2 separate regions of the Homo sapiens genome follow, and region 2 is linked to region 1. The links are contacts of gene promoters, found by promoter capture Hi-C in blood cells and fetal thymus (Javierre and others, 2016). All regions are on one chromosome and are shown on one strand. Each heading gives the region's core, a stretch centred on a gene start or on the middle of the fragment in contact. The rest is flanking DNA. Distances are from core to core; before and after follow the strand shown.

What was found. Contacts are between HindIII fragments. The CHiCAGO score rates a contact against its expected background, and 5 or more counts as called.
Region 2: a fragment that was not itself captured here is called in contact with the fragment with the promoter of RTP1 in region 1 in 1 of 17 cell types (M1 macrophages); the score reaches 5.2 in M1 macrophages.

Annotation. Positions count from the first base shown.
Region 1 is chr3:187,193,723-187,200,364 of GRCh38, forward strand. It overlaps RTP1 (receptor transporter protein 1), which reads left to right and starts at 3,764. Exons shown (of 2, transcript NM_153708.3): 1 at 3,764-4,065; 2 at 5,829-6,642. The coding sequence starts at 3,794. The coding sequence ends at 6,348. LOC101929106 (a long non-coding RNA gene) reads right to left here. Exons shown (of 5, transcript NR_110052.1): 3 at 5,506-6,391; 4 at 4,805-4,980; 5 at 3,368-4,308. The HindIII fragment of the contact is 10,837 bases long and covers 2,412-6,642 here.
Region 2 is chr3:187,620,370-187,627,011 of GRCh38, forward strand. No RefSeq gene overlaps it. Among named protein-coding and RNA genes, the nearest start is that of SST, 47 kb to the right of the region's middle. The HindIII fragment of the contact is 151 bases long and covers 4,031-4,181 here.

The sequences.
Region 1 (6,642 bases), core at 2,514-5,013:
GAAGGATGCATTATATTGGCCTCTGCACAGCAAGCTTGGGTTCTAAATAAAACTTAATTTGTGCCAATGGGGATTGCATCAGCTGGTTACACACACACACACACTCACACACACACACACACACACCCCTCTGGTGATTCTTACTTTCTGTCTTCTGTCATCATAGTGTTTATTGTAGCAACACCTGCAAAATACTTCTAGAGGATTTGTTCTGGGTAGCACTGTTTGTTATAAGCTCCTCTCAGCTTCACGTATTTTCTGGGAAGGTCCACAGCCCCCATTCTCATTTTGGCCAGTAACTCCCACCTGAGGCAGTTCCCATCATATCTGTGAGGTTTGTTAAACGAGTTTACTTATTTAGGTGTTGGTTGCCTTAATTCAGAGGTAAGAATACTGACTTGAAGGACTGAAAGTTTAATGAAGGGTCCTGAAGAACTTAAGAGTTTTTCCCAATGCCGGCCAGGTGAGATGGCGCATGCCTGTGATCTTAGCACTTTGGGAGGTGGAGGCAGGAGGTTTGCTTGAGCCCAGGAGTTTGGGACCAGCCTGGGCAACACAGCAAGACCCCGTCTCTACATAAAAAATGGGTTTTCCAATGTTAATGTTCAGTGGCTTGATATATTTAATTTCTGTCCTTCTTGCTGTGTTCAGTACAAATCTAGTAGAGAAGCACCTCCCCAGAGATCGTCAACTATATAGCAGGCCCCAGGAAACAGAGCCTGGCTCCAGGCATTACCTGCCATGCCTCTTTAGAAGCTTCCCTCTTCCAACCAGTGGCCTCCATCCTACCTCCTGCCCTCCCAGGATTCAGTTTTCTAAGTATAAAGCTGTTTGAAACCATACATGACTGAAGTTAGAGGGGAGCTTACCTTTGTCATCTACCCTAATTCTTCATTGAACAGATGGACAAACTGAGGCCAAGGGAAATTAGTGGCTTGCCCAAGGTCACAATGTCAGCCAGGAGCAGAGCTGGGCTATGTGTCTCCTGACTCCCAGTTCAGTGCTCTCTCCATTGAGCCAAGATGCCTGGCATCAAATGATTGAGGCTTTACAGGGTTGCTGTGCCTAGAGATGACTTTCTGTACCATATTTTCTTTGGTAAGATTTCAAGCTAAATATCTCTCTCAGCTCTAAAATATTTATACCGAGTATCAGGGGTCTGTGGACACCATTGCTTCATTAAGTTTGGCAGTAGAGGCAGCATCCCCAGCAGTAGCAGGGAGCCTGGTGGGTCAAGTACAACTCACCCCTCTTCTGGGGAGATGTGGCCTCAGTGTGGGGGGGCCCCAGTGAACCATTTGCTGAAATGATATAAACTTCATTTGCAATTCTTGGGGTCTGTAACGGCCACGTGAGTGATGAAGAAACACACATTTAATTAGCAGATGTTATGTTCTAGATTCCACGCTGAGCATCACAATGGCTAAAGCTGGGGCTTTGTAGACAGTCATATAGGTTTAAGTCCCAGTTCAACTAGTTATTAGCTGTTAAATCTTGTGCAAGTTATCTAACCTCTAGACTTTAGCTCACATATCTGTAAAATGGAGCTGCTGCTGCTGTTACCTACCTGTCAAGTTTGTTATTGAATGAAATAAATTAATATTTATAAAGCACCAGAACAATGCTTTCTAAGCACTTACCAGGTAAGTGCTGTATAGTGATTGCTATATAGTAAGTGCTATATGGTGATTGCTGTTACTATGCAAATTAAAATTATATTCACATAAAACATTAACACGTATTTTTTACTAGGATGAAAAGATACAGATTATATACATTAGAATTGCTACCTATGAGTCTATATGGAAATTTTTTTTTTTTTGTAAAAGCAGCCAGGCACGGTGACTCATGCCTGTAATCCCAGCACTTGGGGATGCTAAGGTAGGCAGATCACCTGAGGTCAGGAGTTTGAGACCAGCCTGGCCAACATGGTGAAATCCCATCTCTACGGAAAATACAAAATCAGCCAGGTGTGGTGACGCATGCCTGTAATCCCTGTTACTTGGGAGGCTGAGGCAAGAGAATCACTTGAACTTGGGAGGTGGAGGTTGCAGTGAGTCGAGATTGTGCCATTGCACTCCAGCCTGGGCAACAGAGCGAGACTCTGTAACAACAACAACAACAACAACAACACCACAACCAGGCAAGCCATTCTAAAGCCCCTGCTTTTAATCACAGCAGATACTGTTTTGTTATTATCCCACTGAGAAGATGAATAAACTGAGGTTAAAATAGTGTAAATCAAGGCATCAAACATCCATGAAGCGGCAGGAGAAGCACTTGGAAGATGGTTTCTGGTATCAGATGGGTGATTTTAAGTCCCTCTTTTTCATCACTAAACTTCAAGATCTGCTGGCTGTCCAAAATTCATACTGTTTGAAGAGCCTGCTCAGATTCTGCTAGCCACACCAAGCTTTTGGAGAGAGTGGAGTCAAGAGACGTGTTTTCCAATTGTAGGAAGTGTTGTTTCTAATGCATGCGATGAGCTTCGTCAACAAGTTTATACAAATAGATGGGAAGAGTGTAATGTGAGAAACTGAAATAAAACCAAAATGCCCTAAAAGACAGGATTGGCTAAATAAATTATGCCTATCCATATAACAGAATATAGGTAGCCCATAATGTACTACTACGGAATATGACCTAGAAAAATATTCATGACGTATTATTTTTTGAAAATGTCACAATGTGGTATATAGAATGTATGTGGTGTACAGAATGTGTGTGTATATACACACACATACACTTGTACATGTACAGAAAAATGGTAAGCGGGATGTACATATCGTAATGTTAACAGTAGTCATCTCGGGTGGGGTTTTATGGAAGAGTCTTACTTCTCTTTTCTTTCATCTATATTTTGTATTTTTTCTAGAATAAACCCATATGATTTTTTAAAAGGAAAAATAATTTATTAAAAATAGCAGCAGAGGCATGTATAGTAAAGGCTGTTTTGCCTGTGGGTGGTGCTCCTCTTCTGCGCTTCTATAATCAGCTTGGAAATAATCTTGTCTGCTCCTGCCTGGCTGATGCAATGCTCCTACCTTTGTGCACAGGTGGCTGTTCTTGCACAAGGCCATTGCAGCATGGATCCTATTGCACAGTTATTCAGTACACAGTCAGCTACAAGCACTGACATAGAGCTTGGCACATGTCTGCAAACCCTACCCACATGCTCGGATATGTTTGAAATGAATGAATTAATGAACCGGTCTGGGGTCAACAGCTTGAATTTGTATACAGGCTCCGCCATTTATAGGCTAGGTGAGTCCTAGGCTCCTGATCTGTACTGCAGCAATAGTAATCATAACTTAAGAGACCTCCAATTGTGTTTTGAAAATGGCAAAGTGCTGGTCACAAGATGGCTGGGGAAGCCGAGAGAGAGTTTATTATTATTGCTCCATCTACTAACAAATTTACATCTCCCCATCCCTCATTTCTCCTTGGCTGCCTAAGGCATCATGGTTACCGTAGCAGCCAGATGCTGATGATGCCTCCAGGGGACGGCAAGGTGAAACTGAGCCAGTTCCCAGTCCTCACCTCCCCATACTCTTTCCAGGCCAGGGTGAGATGGTCTGAAGCTCAATCTCTGGTCAGGTCCCCCACTCTGTCTTGGATCATTTAGACCCACAAACTCTGCCTCTGCAATCTCAGTTCAGGGCCTTGAAACACCTCTTCAGAGACTCCCTCCTCCCCAAGCTCTGTCTTCTGGCAACCTGCCTGGTTGCCGTGGAAACAGGTTCCACTGCGGACAAAGGAGGGAGCTGGGTCCTGCTTCCTCCTGGTCTTGTCGATGAGGATTTTTAGACCGTGGAGACTGCGCTGCCCTGCCCTGCACCTACCCTCACTCTCCGTGTTCTCACTAAGGTGGAAATTGCCTTCCCTCACTACTGACGAGACCATGTGTAAAAGCGTGACCACAGATGAGTGGAAGAAAGTCTTCTATGAGAAGATGGAGGAGGCAAAGCCGGCTGACAGCTGGGACCTCATCATAGACCCCAACCTCAAGCACAATGTGCTGAGCCCTGGTTGGAAGCAGTACCTGGAATTGCATGCTTCAGGCAGGTGAGTAGCCCAGGAAGGTGGATCCCTGCAGGCCGCCTCTAGGTCCCTAGCTCTGGGGCACCTTCCAAGGAGAGGAAGATTACGTAGAACCCAAGTGTTTAGCTTCAATCTCACTATTAGGCTGGCGTAGACTGGAAGTCAGAGAAAGAGTCCCTAACTGGGAACTACGACACTTGAGTTGGATTTCAGCTCTTCTACTGATCACCTGTGTTACTCTTCCTCTCTGAGTCACAATTTTTCCGTCTGGAAAATAAAGACATAGAATATACGTATGAGTCCTACACACTGACATTTTACATATTTTCTATTTTAACAGTCTCTTAAAAAGTAGTTTAAAACCAGAGAAGAAGGGTTTGAGGCCCACTGGGGGTCGAGACGTCCGTGCTCTGGTCCTGGGACCGGTTTAAATCTATTTAACTCAACTTAATTTCACTTAAAATATTGAATACATGAGATGTGCCAGAAACTGGCTCTATCATTGGCTCCATGGCTGTTGAGGAACTCGATTTTCTTCTTGGACCTGGCTTTCTCCTTTTGCACAGTGAGAGGTTAGCCTGTGGTCCACAGAGCAGCAGGATCGGCATCACCTGGAATTTGTTAAGAAAGCAGAATCTTGGGCCCCTTTTAGATCTGAATCAGAATCTGATTTCAAGAAGAGTTCTAGGTGATTAGTATGTAAAAACTATCTGAGATGAATTTCTAGCACTCTTGTTCATGGGTCCAGAGTGTAGGGGCTTACCTTTGAGACATAAGATGGGGAGGCTGAGTGGTGCAGCCTGGAAGTCAGAAGCAAGGCCTTCCTGCTTGCCCTGGTTCAGCCAATTCACTTCAATTCAGGAAACATTACTGGGCACCTGTTACGTGCTGGGCGCCGGTTCTGCCTCTAGCTGTGTGTACATGGATGCCTCTCTCACTCTGTCTCAGCATAAAAGAAAACATTAATTAGGTGATTTCCAGGTCCCTCTAGTTACGACATTTTTCAATCCAGGTTTTGTAGTCTGGTCTGAGAGAGGAAACAGTCCCCAAAAGATGTGTGAACAAGAAGAGAATGAAAATGTGAAGCTCCTAAACTGGCTGACAGGAGGGGTGTCAAGGGCTGGACACTTACAGGCAGGATCAGGAGCTTCTTGAAGACCTGGAAGGCTGTGGGGGCTGAGTGGGGAGGGCTTGTGGCTGCCCCAGACCTGGCTGGGGACCTGTAATCCCCAGCTGGCCCCAGTCAGGCCTGGGAGACTACAGGCCTTGGGGATCTGGGCACAGACTGCCTCCACCTCCAGGCCTTGTGATGCATTAACTCTGACACTGGCCTGGACGTTGATAGCTAGTAATGGTGTCATTTTCTCCTAATTTGGATCTAGCCTGTTCACAGTCAGTGTTAACAGATAGAAATGTGCAGATGGATTATGTGTTTCTTATCTGGTGTGAGAAGGAAGGACTCACCTAGTGCACCAAGCGCATTTTGCCCATGAGGAATAAGAATGACGCCCAATGCTGGGGTGGTGGGAGTTAGGCCTCTGGAAAGCACTGAGGAGGTAGAGCACTGCTGGATGCCCGGTGACATCCTGAGGAACCTGCTGTAGTCCTAGGGGCACTTGCAAGGCTGAGTGGCTTCCTGGGGAAAGCTAATGAACCCAGGGCGCCGGCAACACACTTCCTCCACCTCCAGGCTCTGCTTAGCCTCCACGTCCCCTCACGCCATTCCTAGGGCTGTTTCCACCACCTCCGCCCGTCTTCTATTCCTCCCTCTCCTCCCGTCTCCGCAGGTTCCACTGCTCCTGGTGCTGGCACACCTGGCAGTCGCCCTACGTGGTCATCCTCTTCCACATGTTCCTGGACCGCGCCCAGCGGGCGGGCTCGGTGCGCATGCGCGTCTTCAAGCAGCTGTGCTATGAGTGCGGCACGGCGCGGCTGGACGAGTCCAGCATGCTGGAGGAGAACATCGAGGGCCTGGTGGACAACCTCATCACCAGCCTGCGCGAGCAGTGCTACGGCGAGCGTGGCGGCCAGTACCGCATCCACGTGGCCAGCCGCCAGGACAACCGGCGGCACCGCGGAGAGTTCTGCGAGGCCTGCCAGGAGGGCATCGTGCACTGGAAGCCCAGCGAGAAGCTGCTGGAGGAGGAGGCGACCACCTACACCTTCTCCCGGGCGCCCAGCCCCACCAAGTCGCAGGACCAGACGGGCTCAGGCTGGAACTTCTGCTCTATCCCCTGGTGCTTGTTTTGGGCCACGGTCCTGCTGCTGATCATCTACCTGCAGTTCTCTTTCCGTAGCTCCGTATAAGATTCCGTGGTTGGGCCCAGAGCCTGTCGAGGGTGCCAGTTAGCTGATGCGAGGGTAGAGGAGAGACGTGGGTTGAGAATAGTGTAAACTTCTAGCGCTGGTGATGTCACTGACTCAGTGGGGATCTTGGACAAATTATACAGTTTTTCCATCTATAAAACTCAGGGTTTGGGCAAGATCATTGGTTTATCATAGTGAAACCCAGGACCCCAAAGTTCTGCGTAGGTGCCTCAGGGACTTTTGGATTTGGAAAGTAGGCTAAGCTAGTGGGTGTCTCCAACTCCTGATCTAAAC
Region 2 (6,642 bases), core at 2,856-5,355, 430 kb after region 1:
CTTGAGTCCTAGGCCTCTTTGTGATATTAACTGTGACTTATTCTGGGGTAAGAATTTCCTTGGGCTTTAGATTCCCTATCTACACAATCAGAGGTAGACTAGATGATCAAAGGTTGCTTTCAGCTCTGACATTTTTTAATCCATTGAGTGTTGGAGAGCTTGAGTCTGAATTTTGGCCGAGTGCTAGATGAAACACCTTCACTATGACTAAGTTAGATGGCATCTGAGGCCCACAGGAGAAGTGACATGAGTACACTTTTTAATCCATCATGAATGTGGCCAGGATGGAGGGCTGCCTTTTGTTCTGCTGAAGACAAGTGAATATTCAGCCCTAAGCACCCCCAAGGCTTGCCTGAGATGCTTACCTTGGCTTTCAGACACCAGCAAAGATCGCCCACTCTTGATAACATGAAGCCACTGTCACAGTGGCCTCTGATATAAGGGCTGACTCCCTGGAGGAGCATGGCATAGTAAGGAATGTGGAGGGAAGGCATGGGCTCTCTGACACTCACAGAGGAATAACCATAACCTAACACACGCACCCAGAGTGGCGGTGTGCAAATCATAGATAATTTGATTTTAACAACCTTGCAAAAGGAAGAAGAAGTAAGTACTATGCCTCTACCTTGCATGTTGGGAAATTAATGCTCAGAAATGTTGAAGGATTTCTGCATAAATGTAAAGTGATTAAATGTAGGAAGCTGATGGCAGATTTTTCTTTCTCCAGTGTAATATTCCTTTGGCTACATTGTATTGCCTCTTTTTCTTATCTTCTCTATTGGATCCTTACAAAAATCCTGCCAGCGAAAAAGGGCAAGTATTCCCATTTCCATTTTATGGAGCATAAAGTTGAAGCTCAAAGAGACTTTTCAGTCTCACAGTAGGTAGCGGGGACTTCCAGTGCACTTTTTGCTATATCACTACTGCTTCTTTTTTATTGTATTTTATTGTATAATCTTACTTGTACCCCATCAGAGAGGTAGAACATACTGGTAATATAATTTGCAATTTTCTAACAAGAAAACTGAGGTCCAGAGAAGTAATATTGGAGAAATTTATTAAAGATGAATTTATGAGTTTAGGTTGGCAAGAAAATGACCTTTCCAACAATTGGAGTTGCCGTCATTGGAAATGAGCCCCTGTACCATCACAGGACCAGAGGACCGCTCAGAGATATGGCACAGGCGACTGTGAAATGATGAAGAGTTGACTTAGATATTCATTAAGCTCCTTCCTGACCATATGCATCCATGGTTCTATGCCTGACCCAAAGCCCCCAGCCAGTATCTCATCAGTCAGGATGTGAACCCAAGTCCTCCAAGTCATACTTTATCCTATGCATTTTTTGCCCTATCCATTCAACTTTCCTTGGCTCATATTTCCAAATATTTCAGAATCCAACTGTCTAGGTGTAGGTGTAGTTATCATTTGAACACTGGCCAGAACAGGATCTCTCTGTAGGTTTACTGAGTAAACACTGACAAATTGGCCACTCAACAAATCACACATATTAACATGGAGTATTCTTCTCAAACAACATGAAATGATTTTTAAAAGTTCCTAACTTGGAGACTGGACCTTGGCTCCAGTCCTGAATTTTCCATCAAATGCCTATAGGAACCTGATCAAAGTCACTTTCTGTTTCAAGGCATTGGGCATCCTCCATTGCAACGTGACTGTTGGACAAGAGGTTCTTTTAAGCTCAGCAACGCAAGATCACAAGACTAATTGTCTTTGCTGCTAGCCATGGGAAGGCTGGAAGACAAGGAGCTTGGAATAACAAGCTTATCCAGGGGCTAAACAGAGAAAGCCAGGCTTAGCAATATCATATTGACATTCTTTACCAGCCTTGAATCCATTTGAGTTTGGGAGGTAAGAAGTAGCCCAGAAACAATGCAATGAGAAATTAGCCTCTCTTCTTAAGTCCTAAATGGTCATATGCCTTTGAGCTCCATTGCCCAGTCTCAGGTTGGCACTGTCTTCTGTCAGTAGCTATAGTATTTCCCCTACCACAACCCATCTCTATTTCCCATCACTGACAGCCCCATCCTCCATCTCCCTAGACAGATCTCCCTGCTTATGTTCCTACCATTTCTTGTCTGACAATCAATTTTCCTATCTGTCATTATCAATTCTGTTCATTAACTCTCCCACGTGTCTTAGCTGAGGCCTCCCGACACCAAAAAGCATCTCAAAAAAAAAAAAAAAATGACAATGTTCCCAAACAGAATAATTGAAACTTCTTGCACATCTAGAGAGACTTCTGTCTGAAACCCTCAGAGCCATTTTTTAAATGTCAGTAGAAATGTACATTTTATACTAGGGAGGCAGACTTCACCATTCTAGCACAACCAAATGAAAAGTAAAGCAGAAACCAAAAAACATTCAGCAACTACTTTTTTCTTTGTGGTTCACAGAATGCAAAACTGGTCTGACCATTTTTTTTTAAGTTTAGTTGACTTGTTAATTGCCTGTAGTTCTTTTAAACATGGCCTAAGAAACGGTTACTACAGGAATAATACTGTGAAGAAGGTGAAAATGCTAGAGAGACCGTCTTGTGCCTTTCTCCGAGGAGTTCCGTGAACTGCTCAGTTGCTAAGACTTGATAGGAACTTGTAGAAAGACTTCTGTAGCACTACAAGGCAGTAATACATATTGATGAAAAATCTCTGTTATCAGGCTATCTGTATTTAAGAGTTATAATAACAACAGCTATTCTTAGACAATTCTTTACCATTTATAAGGTATTTTCACACATATCACATCACTTTGCATTTACTGTTTCCCCTATCCTGAACATTCCTCCCTCAGATATCTACCTGGCTTGCTCCCTCACCTACTTCAGAACTGTGTTCAAATGTTATCTTTCCTATTGGCCTAAAGGAAAATTGCAACTGTGCCCACCTCCCCTGAAACTCCCTGTCCGCTTCCCATGATATGCTTCTCCACAGCACTCCTCACTGTCTGACTTGCTATACATTTTACTTGTAGAATGTGAGCTCCCTAGGGAATGAGATCTTTGTATTTTCATGGCTATATTCCCAGTGCCTGGAACACAGTAGTTGCTCAGTTAAGACCTTTTGAGGGAATAAAAGAATACATTGTGAATGCGATTCTCCCCACAGCCTTGAGGAGCAGGAGGCATCATTATTACTATTTTGCAGATGAAGCAACTGAAACTCAGAAGGCTAAGTGGTCAGACCACATGGATGAGAGGGGCAGACCCAGATGACCTCACACTGGCTCACTCTGTGCTCTCCAGAGACACATCTCGGAAACAGACACTTTAACAAGTGCACCCTCCCACTCAGGAAGGAGTGTCCAAGTCAGACGAGTGCTGAGAGCTATAATGCTCAGCCCTGTGCCTGCACCCCTGCATTGGCCCTCTCTTGGCACCTGCCTTACCCACCCTCCAGGGAGTGCGTTCCCAGGCACCCACTGTATTTGATGAGCACCTGCAGGTCTAATTATCCCATTAAGGTAGGATAAACAAAGAAAAAGGAAGGAAGAAATAATTACAAAACAAGCAAACCTGAATGGTCAACACATCAACACAGTAATTACATTTCTCCAAAAAGAAAAAGACAGGAACTAAGCTTTTCCACCTAACTCTTTTTGCTTTCGAATGGAAGCCTCCTCTCTCAGCTGCAGATTACACGGGCTGGCAGCTTTCCCACCCTCACCATGCTCCTTGTTGCCTCTATTGACAGAGGTGAGCCATTACTCTTCACTAAAATTCAGTGTCCACACATTCGCCCCTTGACAACACTCTGGAAATTGATCTCTTCAAATATCTTTGGAACTAAATTAAGGCAATTTGTTCTTTCCCTGATCCACATGGTTGTCCTCTGGGACAGAATCATTGCTAAAAGGATGATCATGATTTTTTGAAAAGGGAGGGAAGTCTTCCGGGAAGGAGGCAATCCAAAATCTTGGTAATATTGAGTATAAGTGATTTTAAAAATCAAATACCATTAATACTGCTATACTGCTTACAAAGAACATTCACATCCATTATCTATAGGATTTAAGCTTTGTGCTACTCTATGAAGAAATTGAGAAATACCTGACTTTCCATTTTATAGGTGGCAAAACTAGGGAAATGACTTACCAAAGTTCACATCCCTGTAAGTGAAAGAGCAACAAATACTCGAATCCAAGTTTTCTGACTCTAAGTGGAAAGCTTTATGCCACAAATATGGTATGTGTGTGTATATGTGTGTAGAGAGAAAGAGAGACTGATTCTATTTTCACCCTGCACCTTCCAAATTGTCTTTTCTGGGCACCTCACTCGGCTTCCCTGTCCTCAGATGTATTTTCCTGCATCAGAGAGCACTCTGGCAGTCCCCAGACTGGCTGTGCTCAGAGGTTAGCATTTTACATTCCACAAGTATTTGGCTTGCTTTAAGAGCATGGACTTCTGAGTCAGACAGACCTGAGTTCCAGCAGGGATAGATTGCACCGATCCTCAACATCTCCACTCACCTCACAGCATTGTTGACAAAATTGTATGAAAAGACGCCATGTGGTATCCATCACAGCTCATGGCACACCGAAAATGCTCAGTAAATGAGAGCAATTCTTGTTGAGTACCCTGTTCACTTCTGTATCACATCTGAGAGGTGGGGGTCCAGGCTCTTATCTTATCTTACATTATTGCTCAAAGCCTTCGCCAGAGTCACTCTCTGGGCATGAGCGTGCATGGAAGCAGTGATATCCTCTAATTTGAAAAGTTCTGGGTGCTGAACAGTAGCAAAGACAGCAGCAGGAATTCCTATTTTCTGAACATTTAGTGTTCTCCATGAATAATTGTCATTAATGTCGTCAGCCGCCCTACCATTAATCCCATTTTAGAAGTATTAACACCATTCATTGTGTCCATAGACCTGCTAAACACTGAATATTTGTGTCACTGCAAAATTCATATGTTGAAACCCAACCCCCAAGGTGATGGCATTTGGAGGCAGGGCCTTGGAGAGGTGATTAGGTCAGGTTAGAGGCCCTCATAAATGAGATTAGTGCTCTTGTAAAAAGGACCCCAGAGAGCTCATTTGCCCCCTTCAGCCATGTGAGAACATAGTAAAAATATGGTGTGATATTATGAGATTGTATATGTGTGTGTGTGTGTGTGTGTGTGTGTGTGTGTGTTTTCATCCACAGTTCCCAGTTTATCACTCCCATAGCCCTTATTACAGTCTTTTGTTATAATGCTGGGGCACTTTAGGTGTCAGAAAGCAGAAGCTCTCTCTCACTGACCTTTCTCCTGCCGTTTTTTCACCTGCTTCTTTTTCTCCTCAAGGCAGGATTTAGAAACTAAAAATACACTCTAATCTTCCCCCACCTCTGGTCATAAAGAAATTTTCTGACCCACCTTGTCTGATTGTAGATCATAAGACCTCTGCTTCCAAAGAGGTTCAGCCTCGTACCCTGGGGAAGGAACACTGCACAGAGAGGCCAAAAAGAATTTGAACAGGCAGGACTTGCTGGGGATCCCTGCTCAGTTATTAGTATTAGATTATACTCTTCTTGTCCAATCACATTTCCACATGGCTGTCAATCAAGCCTATCCAATGAAGTCTCCATAAAAGGCCCAAAAGGACAGAATTCAGAGAGCCTCCAGATAGCTGAACACGTAGAGGTCCCTGGAGGGTGGTGCACCCAGGAATGTCATGGGAGCTCTATGCCCATTCCCATACCTCACCTTATGCATCTCTTTATTTGTATCCTTTGTAATATTCTTTATAATAAACCATTAAGCATAAGTAAGTGTTTCCCTGAGTTCTGTGAACTGCTCTAACAAATTTATAGAACCCAAGGAGGTGGGTAATGAGATCCCTGATTTATATCTGGTTGGTCAGAAGCACAGGTAAAGCAGCCTGAGGCGCAGTGGCTCTCACCTGTAATCCCAGCACTTTGAGAGGCCAAGGCAGGTGGATCACTCGCGATCAGGAGTCTGAAACCACCCTGGCCAACAGGGTGAAACCCCATCTCTACTAAAAATACAAAAATTAGCCAGGCATGGTGATGGCTGCCTGTAATCCCAGCTACTCAGGAGGCTGAGGCAGGAGAATTGCTTGAGCCCAGGAGGTGGAGGTTGCAGTGAGCAGAGATTGCACCATTGCACTCCAGCCTGGGTGACAGAGCGAGACTCCACCTCAAAAAAAAAAAAAAAAAAAAAAAAAAAAGTAGGGGACAGTCTTGGGGACTGAGCCTTCAACTTGAAAGGGCTCAGTAGATAGCCCTGCAGGTAGATAGTGTAAGAACTGAATTGAATTGAATTGAATAAGACACCCAGCTGGCATCCACTACAGAATTGAATGCTTGCTTGATGGTAGAGAGAAAATCCCTAAACATTTAGTCACATAAGTCTTCTGTGTTGATTGTTGTGGCGTAAGAGCAGAGAAGAAACATTTTGTGTTTACTCCAATCTCAGATGGCCATCTGTGAACCAGGAAGCAGGCCTTGCCAGACACCAAACCAGCCAGTGCCTTGTTCTTGAACTTTCCAGCCTCCAGAACTCGGAGAAATAAGTTTCTGTTGTATATAAGCCACTCAGTAGTGTGGTATTTTGCTATAGCAGCCTGAAAAGACTAAGACAAGCCCTATGACATAAAGATGCAAAGAAAAACTTGGTAACTGAAC